2 separate regions of the Homo sapiens genome follow, and region 2 is linked to region 1. Evidence: promoter capture Hi-C in human tissues and cell types (Jung and others, 2019). All regions are on one chromosome and are shown on one strand. Each heading gives the region's core, a stretch centred on a gene start or on the middle of the fragment in contact. The rest is flanking DNA. Distances are from core to core; before and after follow the strand shown.

The links. The method cuts DNA at HindIII sites, captures the fragments that hold promoters and counts their contacts. A contact is called where the count stands out against the background at its distance.
Region 2: a fragment that was not itself captured here is called in contact with the fragment with the promoter of LENG9 in region 1 in 1 of the 25 tissues and cell types used here (pancreas).

What each region holds. Positions count from the first base shown.
Region 1 is chr19:54,460,763-54,466,631 of GRCh38, forward strand. It overlaps LENG9 (leukocyte receptor cluster member 9), which reads right to left and starts at 3,016. Exons shown (of 1, transcript NM_001301782.2): 1 at 970-3,016. The coding sequence starts at 2,764. The coding sequence ends at 1,328. It overlaps CDC42EP5 (CDC42 effector protein 5), which reads right to left. Exons shown (of 3, transcript NM_145057.4): 3 at 4,264-4,785. The coding sequence starts at 4,785. The coding sequence ends at 4,339. It overlaps LENG8 (leukocyte receptor cluster member 8), which reads left to right. Exons shown (of 16, transcript NM_052925.4): 16 at 4-1,254. The coding sequence ends at 166. The HindIII fragment of the contact is 37,347 bases long and covers 179-5,869 here.
Region 2 is chr19:55,511,279-55,517,147 of GRCh38, forward strand. It overlaps SSC5D (scavenger receptor cysteine rich family member with 5 domains), which reads left to right. Exons shown (of 14, transcript NM_001144950.2): 13 at 1,733-1,894. Among named protein-coding and RNA genes, the nearest start is that of SBK2, 23 kb to the right of the region's middle. RefSeq lists an enhancer at 5,628-5,869 and a silencer at 5,649-5,808. The HindIII fragment of the contact is 4,152 bases long and covers 1,087-5,238 here.

The DNA.
Region 1 (5,869 bases), core at 1,766-4,265:
TAGCTTCCGCCCTGCGCTGCCAGTCTCCTACCTGCAGGCCGAGCTGGCCTTCGAGGGCGAGGCCGCCTGCCGGGCCTTCCTAGAGCCCCTGGGCCTGGCCTACACGGGCCCGGACAACTCCAGCATCGACTGCCGCCTCAGCCTGGCGCAGCTGTCAGCCTTCTGAGCACCCAGCGAGGAGGGGCGGGGGCAGGGGCTGCAGCCCCCAGCGCTGCCTTTGCGGATTCTGTTTTTGAGCCGTGGACTTGGGTTGTAAATTTATTTGTGGGGAGTGCGCTCCAGGAAGAGCCACCATCCCTGCCCCCGTTTTCCCACCGGGGAGTCTGTACAGAGATTTTTCTACGTTTTTATTTTTTGCCTCAGAGGGATGGGATTGGGGAGGAGGGGATGGGCAGCGGAGGGTTGGGGGCATGGTCTGCAGGCTCATCTGTGTCCGCCTTTCACTCCACTAATGCTGTCTCAGTGTTTTCTCTCTCTCTCTTTCGAGCTTGCACTCCGGTACCCGACCCGGCGCCCTGGCCCATCCCATGCCGGGGGGCCAGTGGAAAGAAGACAGGCCGTCCAGCCCGTGCCCGCCTGCGGCGGGGGCACCCAGCAAGCCCGCCCACCGCCCGCTGCCTCACCTGCTTCGCCACAGACTCTTGTTCCCAGCCCCTTGGGGCCTCCGTGTTTGGGGTGGGGGAGCTGCTTAGAGACTGTGCCCGTCCTCGGCCCCCCACCCTGAAGTGCCAGCACCACCAGCACCAGATCCTCCGCCGCCACACCGCACTGAGGACACGCCGGCCGGGCCGCCTCGTCTCAAGTTGTATAAAGTTGTCTCCGTGTCCCCTCCTCCCTCTGCCCCCAGTGTTTCTTCTGATTTTTTTTTCCCCTTTCCCTCCCTCCCTCTCCGCATTCTTCCCTTGGTTCAGCACAGGTAAAACGGTTCCCCTCCCTCCCTGCCTTCATGGATCACCAGCTCACGTCATGTTGCCTTCTCTTTTCTTTGTGTGTGTGTTTATTTAAGTTATTTTTCTTCCTCCTCTCCCTTTTCTTTTTGGCCCTCCCTCCCTCCCTCTTCTGCCATGTAACTGGAGGATGTGCTATGAGTTTGCAAACAGCTGGACTGTCAGGCTGCTTTTTTTCCAGATGTTCCTCCTCTGCCTCCCCTTCCCCTCCTCTCCCCTCCTTTTCCTTCCTTCCTTCCTTTCCTTGGAGCACTGAGCACCATTTGGAAGCTTGAGAGAAACCAAAATTAAAGAGAGAAAGAGAGAGCGTGCACGCTCCTGCTTTGTCTTTCCTGTGTGGGCTGTTTGCATCCATTGTCTCCTCCAGAGGTCTGGGGGTGTCACTCCAGGGGGATCTCAGCCAGGGGCTGGAAAGGCCCCCCTGTCCTCCCTATACGGCACAGCCAGAGTGTCTGCAGGGGCTGGCACCCCACTTCCTGGCTGAGGGTGAACTCCAGCTTGGGGAGGTGGACCTGGGAACCATGGGGCACCTTGGCCACGGTGAGGTGGGGGTGCAGCTGCCCTGGAGACTGTAGTGTACTCAGCCCCTCGGCTTCCAGCCTCTGGCTCAGCACTTGTGCCATGCTTTCCAGTGTGGGAGAGGGTGGGGCACACAGCACATGCGGGCCCAGGAGGACCAGCTTTCTAAAGCTCAGCCGAGGGGGTGCATTTAGCCCCGGGGCCAAGAGGGCCCGTCTCAGAGCTCCAATGGCAGCGGCCTCCTCCCCAGCGCCTGCCAGTCGCAGCAGGGCCAGGGTCAGGTGTAGGTTCTGAGAGGGCACTAGGAAGTTGGCGCAGTGTGGGGCCACGTGGACCAGGTATTCCTGGGCCTTGGTCACTTCTGCTTGTAGCCCAGGCTCGGTCACCATGAGGGCCACAAAATGTGTGGGGCGCGGTTGGCAAGGGGCTGCAACACTAAGGCGGGCCCTTTTGTCCTCGGGCCAGGCCGCAGGACCCCACTCGGCTTCTGTCGTCTCAGCGGAGCCCCCCGGGACTCCCAGGGCCTGTGCTTCCTTGCCCCCCAGCAATGTGGTCCTGGTGGCTGCTGTTGGCTTCAGTGCCTCAGTCACTCCGGCGAGGCGTCCTCTTGGGGCCAGTGTTCCCAAATCAGCAGCTGTGCCCAGCGCCCTCTCCTGGGCCGCCTCCAGCTCTCCGGGTTCCTCCACGCCTGGTTCCTGGTGCCCTGTGCAGAGCGGCCTTGTGCTCCCTCGCTTGGGGGCAGCCTGGGCCTCCTGACCTGTCCCCGCCAGTGTCCACTCGGCACCCTCTGCCCCGTGGGCGCCCTCGGTGTTCGGTGCGTCCAGGATGGTGGGCCCGCGTCCCGCCGCCGAGCCAGAGCCAAAGACGAGGTCGGTGCGCGAGGCGCGGTCCCACACAAGGCGGCCACGGAAGCGGAAGAAGCGCACGCGGTGCTGGGGCACTGCCAGCACGCCCGGCCCGAGCGCCGCCAGCGGCTGGTCCCAGCAAAAGGCGCTGAAGGGCTCCTCGCGCACACCCAGAAAGCGGTCGACGTAGCCCACCGAGAAGTCGGCGGGGTCGAGGCGCGGGTCCCAGCGGATGCGCTGGATGACGTCCGCGGCTGTGCGCAGCGGCGGCTTCTTGGCCCCGGCCTCCGGCTGCGCCTCGCGGCCAGGCGGCGCCGGCGCCCCAGGGTGGGGCTGGCGGCAGCGGGCGCCGAAGCGGCAGCGGCCTTCCAGGAAGAAGCGGCAGGCCGGCGGGGGCGCGGGTTCCGTGGCGGGGGCTTCCTGCGGCAACTCCGGCTCTCTGGCCGCTGCCATGGGTGCGGGGAACTGGCACGCCCGCCGCGCAGACGAGGTCGCCCCGCACGGAGGGCGGCTCCCCTTGGATGCACCGAGCCTCACCCGACAGTGGCGTCAGCGGCCCGCGCTCCGGCCTAGCTCTGGGGACCACGCCGCGTGCCCTCGCGAGGACTCTGGCCCAGTCCCTCCTTGGTGGAGAGCCTGACACCGCTGCTCTGGGACTTCCCGGCTGCGCCCTCCCCCAGCGCCAGGAAAGCAAGCTGCGTAAAGGCTGCGGCAGTCTCGGTCTCCCGGAGCTCTTGGGAGCCTGGCCCCGCCCCTTTCCCGGTGATTGATGTGTGCTGCCTCTTTCTGGGTGATTTACATGTAATGCCCCGCCCCTTTCGGGATGATTACGTGTGCCTCGACCTTTAGGTGATTTACATGTAGTGCCCCGCCCCGTTCCCGGTGATTTACATGTGGTGCCCCGCCCCTTTCCTGGTGATTTACGAGTGCCCCACCCCTTTTAGGTGATTTTTTTTTTTTTTTATGTGTGCCTCTCCCCTTCCCAAGTGATTTACATATGTTCCCCGCTCCTTTCAGGGTAATTTACATGTAATGCCCCGCCCCTTTCCGGGTGATTTACGAGTGCCTCTCCCCTTCTCAAGTGATTTACATGTGTCCCGCCCCGTTCCGGGTGATTTACATGCGTGCCCTGGCCCTTTCCCAGTGATACTTTTGTGCTGCCTCTTTCCGGGTGATTTACGTGTGTGCCTCTCCCCAAGTGATTTACATGTGTGCCCTGTCCGTTTTAAGGTGATTTACATGTGGTGCCCCGCCCCTTTCCGGGTGATTTACCTGTGTCCCATCCCTTTCCCGGTGATTTACATGTGGTGCCCCGCCCCTTTCCCGGTGATACCTGTGTGCCCCGCCCATGAGGGGACGTCTTTAAAGAACCTGGACCCGCCCTCAGTCCAAGTGATTTACATTTGCGGCCCCGCCCCTCTGGGAAACTTACGAGAACCTGGCCCCTCAGTCCAAATCATTTGCATGTTCGGCCCCATCCCTCGGGGGCCTTAAAGAACCAAGATGCCTGCGGACCCTTCCCCCACGGAGACCAGGCCCCTACTGCTCTAAAAGTGTTCTCAGACACTTCCCTCTGCAGCCGCTCCCAGAGTAAACGGCGGCTCCGCCGGGTCGGAGTCCACCTGAGGCGTTCAGGGCCAGAAAGACTCCTGGGGCTGCAGCACTCTGCAGCCCCGCCTCGGCTGGCCCCGCGGTGGCTGAGTCTGGCCCGGCCCCAGGACCACGTCCGGCCGGCGGTGGCGCACAGTATTTGACGAATGGGACTGCGGGAGCCGCCGCCTCTGCAAGGGGCACCGCCTGGCCACGCCCTCGGGCTCTCTTAAAGGAGCCGCACCCCCACCCCAGGGCAATCATCGGACCCGGACCAGGCCTCCGGGTGACACATCCGGCTCTCAGAGGCGCCAGGACCCTATCATTCATCCCTTTCCACGTGCAAAGTGAAAAGTCAGAGCCCGGGCACACACCTTGGCCGTTTATGTATACAGAAGTGGGGTGCCGGGCGGGAAGGGCGCGGGGAATGAGGGAACCTAGAGGCCGATGACGTCGTTCAGCTCGAGGTCCGCGTTGGGGCGGCAGCGGGCCTGGGGGGGCTGCGTCCCGGGGCGGGGTTCCGCGTCGGGCTTGGCGGCAGCCGCCTCCGGGCGCGCCGCGTCCATGACGCCCAGCACCGCGTCCAGCATGGAGGGCCCCAGATCCAGGTGGAAGGACAGCAGCGGGTCGGCAGGCGAGGGCGCTGCGGACTGCGGGACGGCGGGCGGCGGCGGGGAGCGCGGGGCCCCCGCGGGGGGCGCCCGGGGCTCGGGGGGCGGCCCGCCGCCGTGGCGGCTCAGGAACGAGGTGTCCCCGAAGGCGTCGCCGCCGCGCCCCACGTGCAGCGTGTGCCGGAAGTCGCCGAGCGGCGCGGAGATGGACAGGGCGCCGCGATCAGGCCGCTTCTTGGGCTGCGCGGGGCCCAGCTGCTTCAGCACGGGCATCTGCGAGGGGCACGGGAGGGTCAGCGCGGCCCCAGCCCGGGGCTCGCAGCCACGCGACTGCTCAAAGGACGATGGGGGACGGTTCCCGTTTTTTGTTTTTTGATTTTTGTTTTTGAGACGGAGTCTCGCCCATGCTGGAGTTCAATGGCGCCATCCCGGCTCACCGCAACCTCCGCCTCCCGGGTTCAGGCGATTCTTCCTCCTCAGTCTCCCGAGTAGCTGGGATTACAGGCACCCGCCACCATACCCAGCCAATTTTTGTATTTTTGTAGAGACGGGGTTTCACAATGTTGGCCAGGCTGGTCTTGAACTCCTGACCTCAGGTGATCAACCCGCCTCAGTCTCCCAAAATGCTGGGATAACAGGCGTGAGCCACCGCGCCCGGCCTCCCGTTTCACAGATGGGGTAAGATGAGACTCCAGGAGGTCCCATGGGCACAGCTGCTGAGCTCACATTTGGATCTAACCTGACTCCAGAATGCCTATGAACACCATGCTATGCCGATCCTCCTGAGAGCGAATACTTGAGCCTTCCTAGAGGTCAAGTAACAAATATTTCACAAACCCTTCAGAGTGCTTCCCAGACTTGACTGATAGAAAACTCCAGCTTGTTGGCCCGGGTGCGGTGGCTCACTCCTGTAATCCCAGCACCTTGGGAGGCCGAGGCGGGCGGATCGCTTGAGGCCAGGAGTTCGAGACCAGCCTGAGCAACATGGTGAAACCCCATCTCTATAAAAAATGCAAAAATTAGCGGGGCATGGTGGCGCATGCCTGTAATCCCAGCTAAAGTAGGAGAATCGCTTGAACCCCGGAGGCGGAGGTTGCAGGGAGCCGAGATCGTGTCACTGTATTGGCCACTGCACTCCAGCCTGGGCAACAGGAGTGAAACCCTGTCTCAATAAAAAGAAAAAGAAAACTCCAGCTTGTCAAAAATGGAAATTCCCAGGCTCCTGTTCTGAAGACAGGGCTGACTCTGTCCATTAAGCAAAGCAGATCCTGCCTAGAGCCCACCACGCACACGAGGAAGAGGCCCAGGTGGGCTTTGCCTAGGGTGCATTTTATGATTTGAATTACAGTCCTTGGTA
Region 2 (5,869 bases), core at 1,913-4,412, 1.1 Mb after region 1:
TAGCAGGTAACGGAGCAAGGGATTTCTGTAATTGGGACCACTAGCCACAGAGCTTAAGGCGACATCGGTCAACTTGCCCAAGGTCTTGGACACTGCCCTTCTGCCTGGTTTTGCGTTTGGAATGAGAAAACATCCTAACGGGCTCAGTTGGGTAGGAAATGAAGAGGAAGGGAATTCGGGGTGGGGGCGGCAGCGTGGGCAGAGGCTGGGAGGTGTGAAAAGCCTGCGCGTTGTGGTTGTTCCCAGTGTTTTGCTGTCACAAATATGGCTGCTATGAACTCCTTGTACCCATGAATCCCTGGGCTCATGGGTAAGGATTTCTCAGCACCTCCTTGTGGAATTGCTTGTGGAAGCAGGCATGTCTCCCTAAACACTGCAAACCTGCCCTCCTAACTCAAGGTCAGGGTCCAGCGTGAGCAGAGCATCGTGTAGGACGAGACGATGCTGGAGAAGCTGGCAGGGGCTGGTTATGAAGGAAGATGGTGTCTGTGGGCCGTGGGGACTCATGGAAGGGTTTAGGGTGGAAAGGGGCAGGTGTCTGCCAGTTTTTAAGAGGCCTCCAGGATCAGTGTGGGGGGCCAGGGTCTCAGGGGAAGTTGGTTTGATGATTCGGATAGGCAATGAGTATGGAGTGTTTTGTTCGGGTGATGAAAGTGTTCTCAATTTTGATTGTGGCGATGGTCACGCAAGCTTGTGAGTGGGTAAACCCCCTCAGTTGCAATTTCAAGCTGATGAATTGCATGATACGTGACCTGTATCTCAAGGAAGCTGTTGTTGAGGCCGGGCACGGTGGCTCACACCTGTAGCTCACTTTGGGAGGCTGAGGCAGGAGAATCACTTGACCCCGGGAGGCAGAGCTTGCAGTGAGCCGATATTGCGCCACTGTACTCCATCCTGGGTGGCAGAGTGAGACTTGGTCTCAAAAAAAAAAAAAAAGAAAAGAAAAGAAAGCTGTTGTTTGTATAAAGCTAGGACTGAATTATCATTCTATTCTCCCTAAATAAAATGGCATACATATATGTATATATATTATACATTTATATGTTATATAAAATTGCTATTATATAGAGATTAAGTGCATTTGGCCAAAAAAAAAAAAAAGGAAAAATAGTATTATAGAGATGTTCCAGGCAGTGAATTAATAAAGATGTTATGGTTTTTCCCCCGCTAGGGCAGGAGCCTTGAGGAATTAAAATAATAAATTCCTTTTTTTTTTTTTTTGAGGCGGTGTCTCGCTCTGTCACCCAGGCAGGAGTGCAGTGGCACAGTCTTGGCTCACTGCAACCTCTGTCTCCCAGGTTCAAGTGATTCTCCTGTCTCAGCCTCCCGAGTAGCTGGGATTATAGGCGTGTGCCACCATACCCAGCTAATTTTTTGTATATTTAGTGCAGATGGGGTTTCTCCATGTTGGCCAGGCTGGTCTTGAGCTCCTGACCTCAAGTGATCTGCCTGCCTCAGCCTCCCAAAGTGCTGGGATTACAAGCTTGAGCCACGGCGCCAGGCCCAAATGCCCTTCATTTTATGTGCTAGTTTAGTGACCGTTTCCGTCGTTGGTAGCCAAAAACATCCCAGCTGAATGGAGAAGGTCTCCACGAGGTCAGGTAGGGCTGCAGTGGCGGTGCAGTTGAGACGGGATGATGCCTGAACTGGGGCTGGCCCAGGAGGAGAGAGACGGGGAGTCAAACTCAAAGGGAAGTTGGAAGACTCAATCCTCTTCCCCATATCTCTCTAGGCAGCAAAGATGGTTACAAGCTTCCCTGGACGTGGGACACACCATCAGGAAGGGGCCTGGCTGAGGGGACCCCTACCGCAGGCAAACTAGGACCAACTCTTGGGGCTGGCACCACCAGGAGCCCAGGCAGTCCTCCAACTCTGAGAGTCCATGGAGACACAGGTGAGACACGTGGCTGGGGTGAGGAGACTGGGACGGTATTTGTCCTGGGGTAAAGAGACAGATTCCAGACTCCCCACTGGAACCCTTACCCCAGAAAGACTCAGCAGAAATATACCCTAAAACAAAGGGTTATCGGCTGAGCATGGTGGCTCATGCCTGTAATCACAGCACTTTGGGAGGCCGAGTTGGGAGGATTGCTTAAGCTCGGGAGTTTGAGAGCAGCCTGGGCAACATGGTGAGCCCCCCAAGATATGAACATTAGCTGGGTGTGGTGGTACGCACGTGTGGTCCCAGCTGCTTGGGAGGCTGAGGCAGGAGGATCCCTTGAGCCTGGGTGCTCGAGGCTGTGGTTGTGCCACTGTATTCCAGCCTGGGTGCCAGAGCGAGACCTTGTCTCAAATAAAGACAAAAACAGAACCAAGAGGTTATTATCTAGACCGCTGGTCATCAACTAGGGTCGATTTTGCCCCCAAGGGGAATTTGGCAATATCTGAAGATATTTTGGATTGTCATGGCAGGAAGTGAGAGGCTACCCATTGGCACCTGATCGGTAGAGGCCGGGGTGGTGATAAACATTCACAATGCACACGACATTCCCCATAACAAAGAACCACCCAGCCCTAAATTACAATAGTACCGAGGTTGAGAAACCCCAGCCTAGATGGCATAAGTCACTGTGACAAATAGGAAAATGATAGGAAACCCTAGATGAGAAAGAGGAAAACAGGTGATTCCCAGAAAAGGAAGCCCAAATGGCTGAGTGTATTTAGAAATGCCCACGCTCATCAGGAACCAGAAAATACAAATTAAAACAATGGCAAGTACAGAGGAGAATGAGAAAGGTGGGTATTATCCAGTGTGAGTGAGGATGTGGGAAGACAGGCAACCCCACTGGACAGAGCTGTTTGATAAAGACAATCCAGCAGTATTTAGTAAAGTTAAGCATGATTAGGCTGGCTGCAATGGCTGACGCCTGTAATCCCAGCACTTTGGGAGGCTGAGGCGGGCAGATCACGAGGTCAGGAGATCGAGACCATCCTGGCTAACACGGTGAAACCCTGTCTTTACTAACAATACAAAAAATTAGCCAGGCGTGGTGGTAGGCACCTATGGTCCCAGCTACTCGGGAGGCTGAGGCAGGAGAATGGCGTGAACCCAGGAGGCAGAGCTTGCAGTGAGCCGAGATTGCGCCACTGCACTCCAGCCTGGGCAACAGAGTGAGACTCTGTCTCAAAATAATAATAATAATAATAATAATAATAATAATAATAATAATAATAATAATAGGTGTGGTGGCAGGCGCCTGTAATCCCAGCTACTCGGGAGGCTGAGGCAGGAGAACTGCTTGAACCTGGGAGGCGGAGGTTGCAGTGAGCTGAGATCGCACCACTGCACTCCAGCCTGGGCAACAGAGAAAGACTCTGTTAAAAAAAAAAAAAAAAGAGAGAGAGAGAAGAAGGGAGGAAGGGAGAAAGGAGGGAAGGAAATCTGCATGAGCTCCATGACGTAGATCTATAATTTTGCCCATTTCTCAGATGAGTGAAATTGAGGCACAGACATCAGTGACTCTGACATCAATAATTATTAGAGTGCTTATTCCATGCTAGACATTACACTAAGTGCTTTGCACAACCATGGTCTCCCTGAGTCCTTTTGACAGCTCTGCAAGGGAGATACGCGGATCATCCACAGTCTATAGCTGAGGAAGAAACTGAGATTCAAGCAGTGAAGTAACTTGGCCGTGGTCACCCCGCTAGGAAGCCATGCAGCTGGGGTTTAAACTCGGACAGCCTGCCTTGAGCACAAGCCCTTTACTTAACCGCTTCTCCAATCCTGCAAACAAAGGACAAGGTGGGGAAGGGATGCGCCTGAAAGACCCTGCCCTGCAGGAACAAGTGGAAATCTGTAGATCTGTGTGGTTCAATACGGTAGCTAAGAGCACCGGGCATGGTGGCTCACGCCTGAAATTCCAGCACTTTGGGAGGCTGAGGCAGGCAGATCACCTGAGGTCGGGGGTTCAAGACTAGCCTGAACAACATAGTGAAACCCCATCTCTACTAAAAATACAAAAAAATTAGCTGGGCATGGTGGCACATGCCTGTCATCCCAGCTACTCAGGAAGTGGACACAGGAGAATCACTTGAACCCAGGAGGCGGAGATTGCAGCGAGCCAAGATCGCGCCACTGCACTCCAGCCTGGGCAACAGGAGTGAAACTCCGTCTCAAAAAAAAAAAAAAAAAAAAAGTTAAATGAATTAACACTTTGAAAATGAAACATTTGCCGGGCGCAGTGGCCACGCCTGTAATCCCAGCACTTTGGGAGGCCGAAGCGGGCGGATCACGAGGTCAGGAGATCGCGACCGTCCTGGCTAACACAGTGAAACCCCATCTCTACTAAAAATACAAAAAATTAGCAGGACATGGTGGCGAGCGCCTGTAGTCCCAGCTTCTCGGGAGGCTGAGGCAGGAGAATGGCATGAACCTGGGAGGCAAAGCTGGCAGTGAGGCGAGATCGTGCCACTGCACTCTAACCTGGGCGACAGAGTGAGACTCCGTCTCAAAAAAAAAAATAAAATAAAATAAAAGAAAATGAAACATTTAGTTTCTCATTCACACTGGCCGCATTTCAAGGGCTTGGTAGCCACATGTGGCCAGTGGCTACTGTATTGGCACGGTAGATCACAGCGCATTCCCATCACTGCAGATGTGAGATTTCATTGCCTAGACTCTATGTGCAAACAACTTGGGTTCAAGTCTTAGCCCTGCAACTTGCAAACTATGTCTGTGTGACCTTGGGCGAGTCACCTGCCCTCTTGCCCTAATTTCCCCCTTCTGTAAAATGGGGATAAAATTGGCACTCACTTGGAAGACAGCCCCAGAAGAGGGTCAGGCTCCTCCTGCTACTCAGGCCCAAAATTTAAGGGGGTGCCCAAAACGCCAAAATCAAGATACATAATATCATAATACAGTATTTTTTAAAATGAAAATTAATGCCAAAAAAAAAAAAACCCATGATGAACTCGGTATCAAAAATGTAACTGAAGGCCGGGCGCGATGGCTCATGCCTGTAATCCCAGCACTTTGGGAGGCCCAGGCGGGCGGATCACGAGGTCAGGAGATCGAGACCATCCTGGCCAACACGGTGAAACCCCGTCTCTACTAAAAATACAAAAAATTAGCCTGGTGTGGTGGCGGGCGCCTGTAGTCCCAGCTACTCGGGAGGCTGAGGCAGGAGAATGGTGTGAACCCGGGAGGCGGAGCTTGCAGTGAGCCGAGATCACGCCACTGCACTCCAGCCTGGGCGACAGAGCGAGACTCCATCTCAAAAAAAAAAAAAAAGTCACTGAAGACAGGATCCTATCCGCCTCGCTGGGCTCCCCCTAATCCTGGCCCTGTTGGATCCCGTCTTTGGTTAAAATGTTAACTTTGGTTAACTGTGGATCTTTTGGATTAATTTTGATTGTTTAAAAATATTGCATAAAAACGCTTGAGCCCAGGAGTTCGAGGTTACAGTGAGCTATGATCTTGCCACCGCACTCCAGCTTGGGCGACACAGCCAGACTTTATCTTAAAAAATAAAAAAATCCATAAAAGTATTTATTTTGATTACTAACATTACCCTTCGGAGCCCTCTTTGGTCTCCCTGCCTCCCCTGGCTCCGCACATCTCCCAGTCCCCCGCTGGCTCAGAATCCTCCCGTATGCTGCACGCTTCTGAGCACTCCCGCCCCCTCCCGCACCCCAGCACCCCACGCATCCCTCCCTCACCTCACCCTCCTGCACCCGCTCCCGCAACCCGCGTGCCCCTCGGCATCCCCGAGTCCGGAGCATCCCCGCATCCTCCCGCAGTGGAGGACGCCAGGTGGCGCCTGGAGCCATCGGAGGACGTAGGGAGGAGGGGCCCTAGGGCCGGGTGAAGTCTGCCGGTGACCCATGACGTCTCGAGGCTCTGTGCCTTTCCATTGGTCGGCTCCTC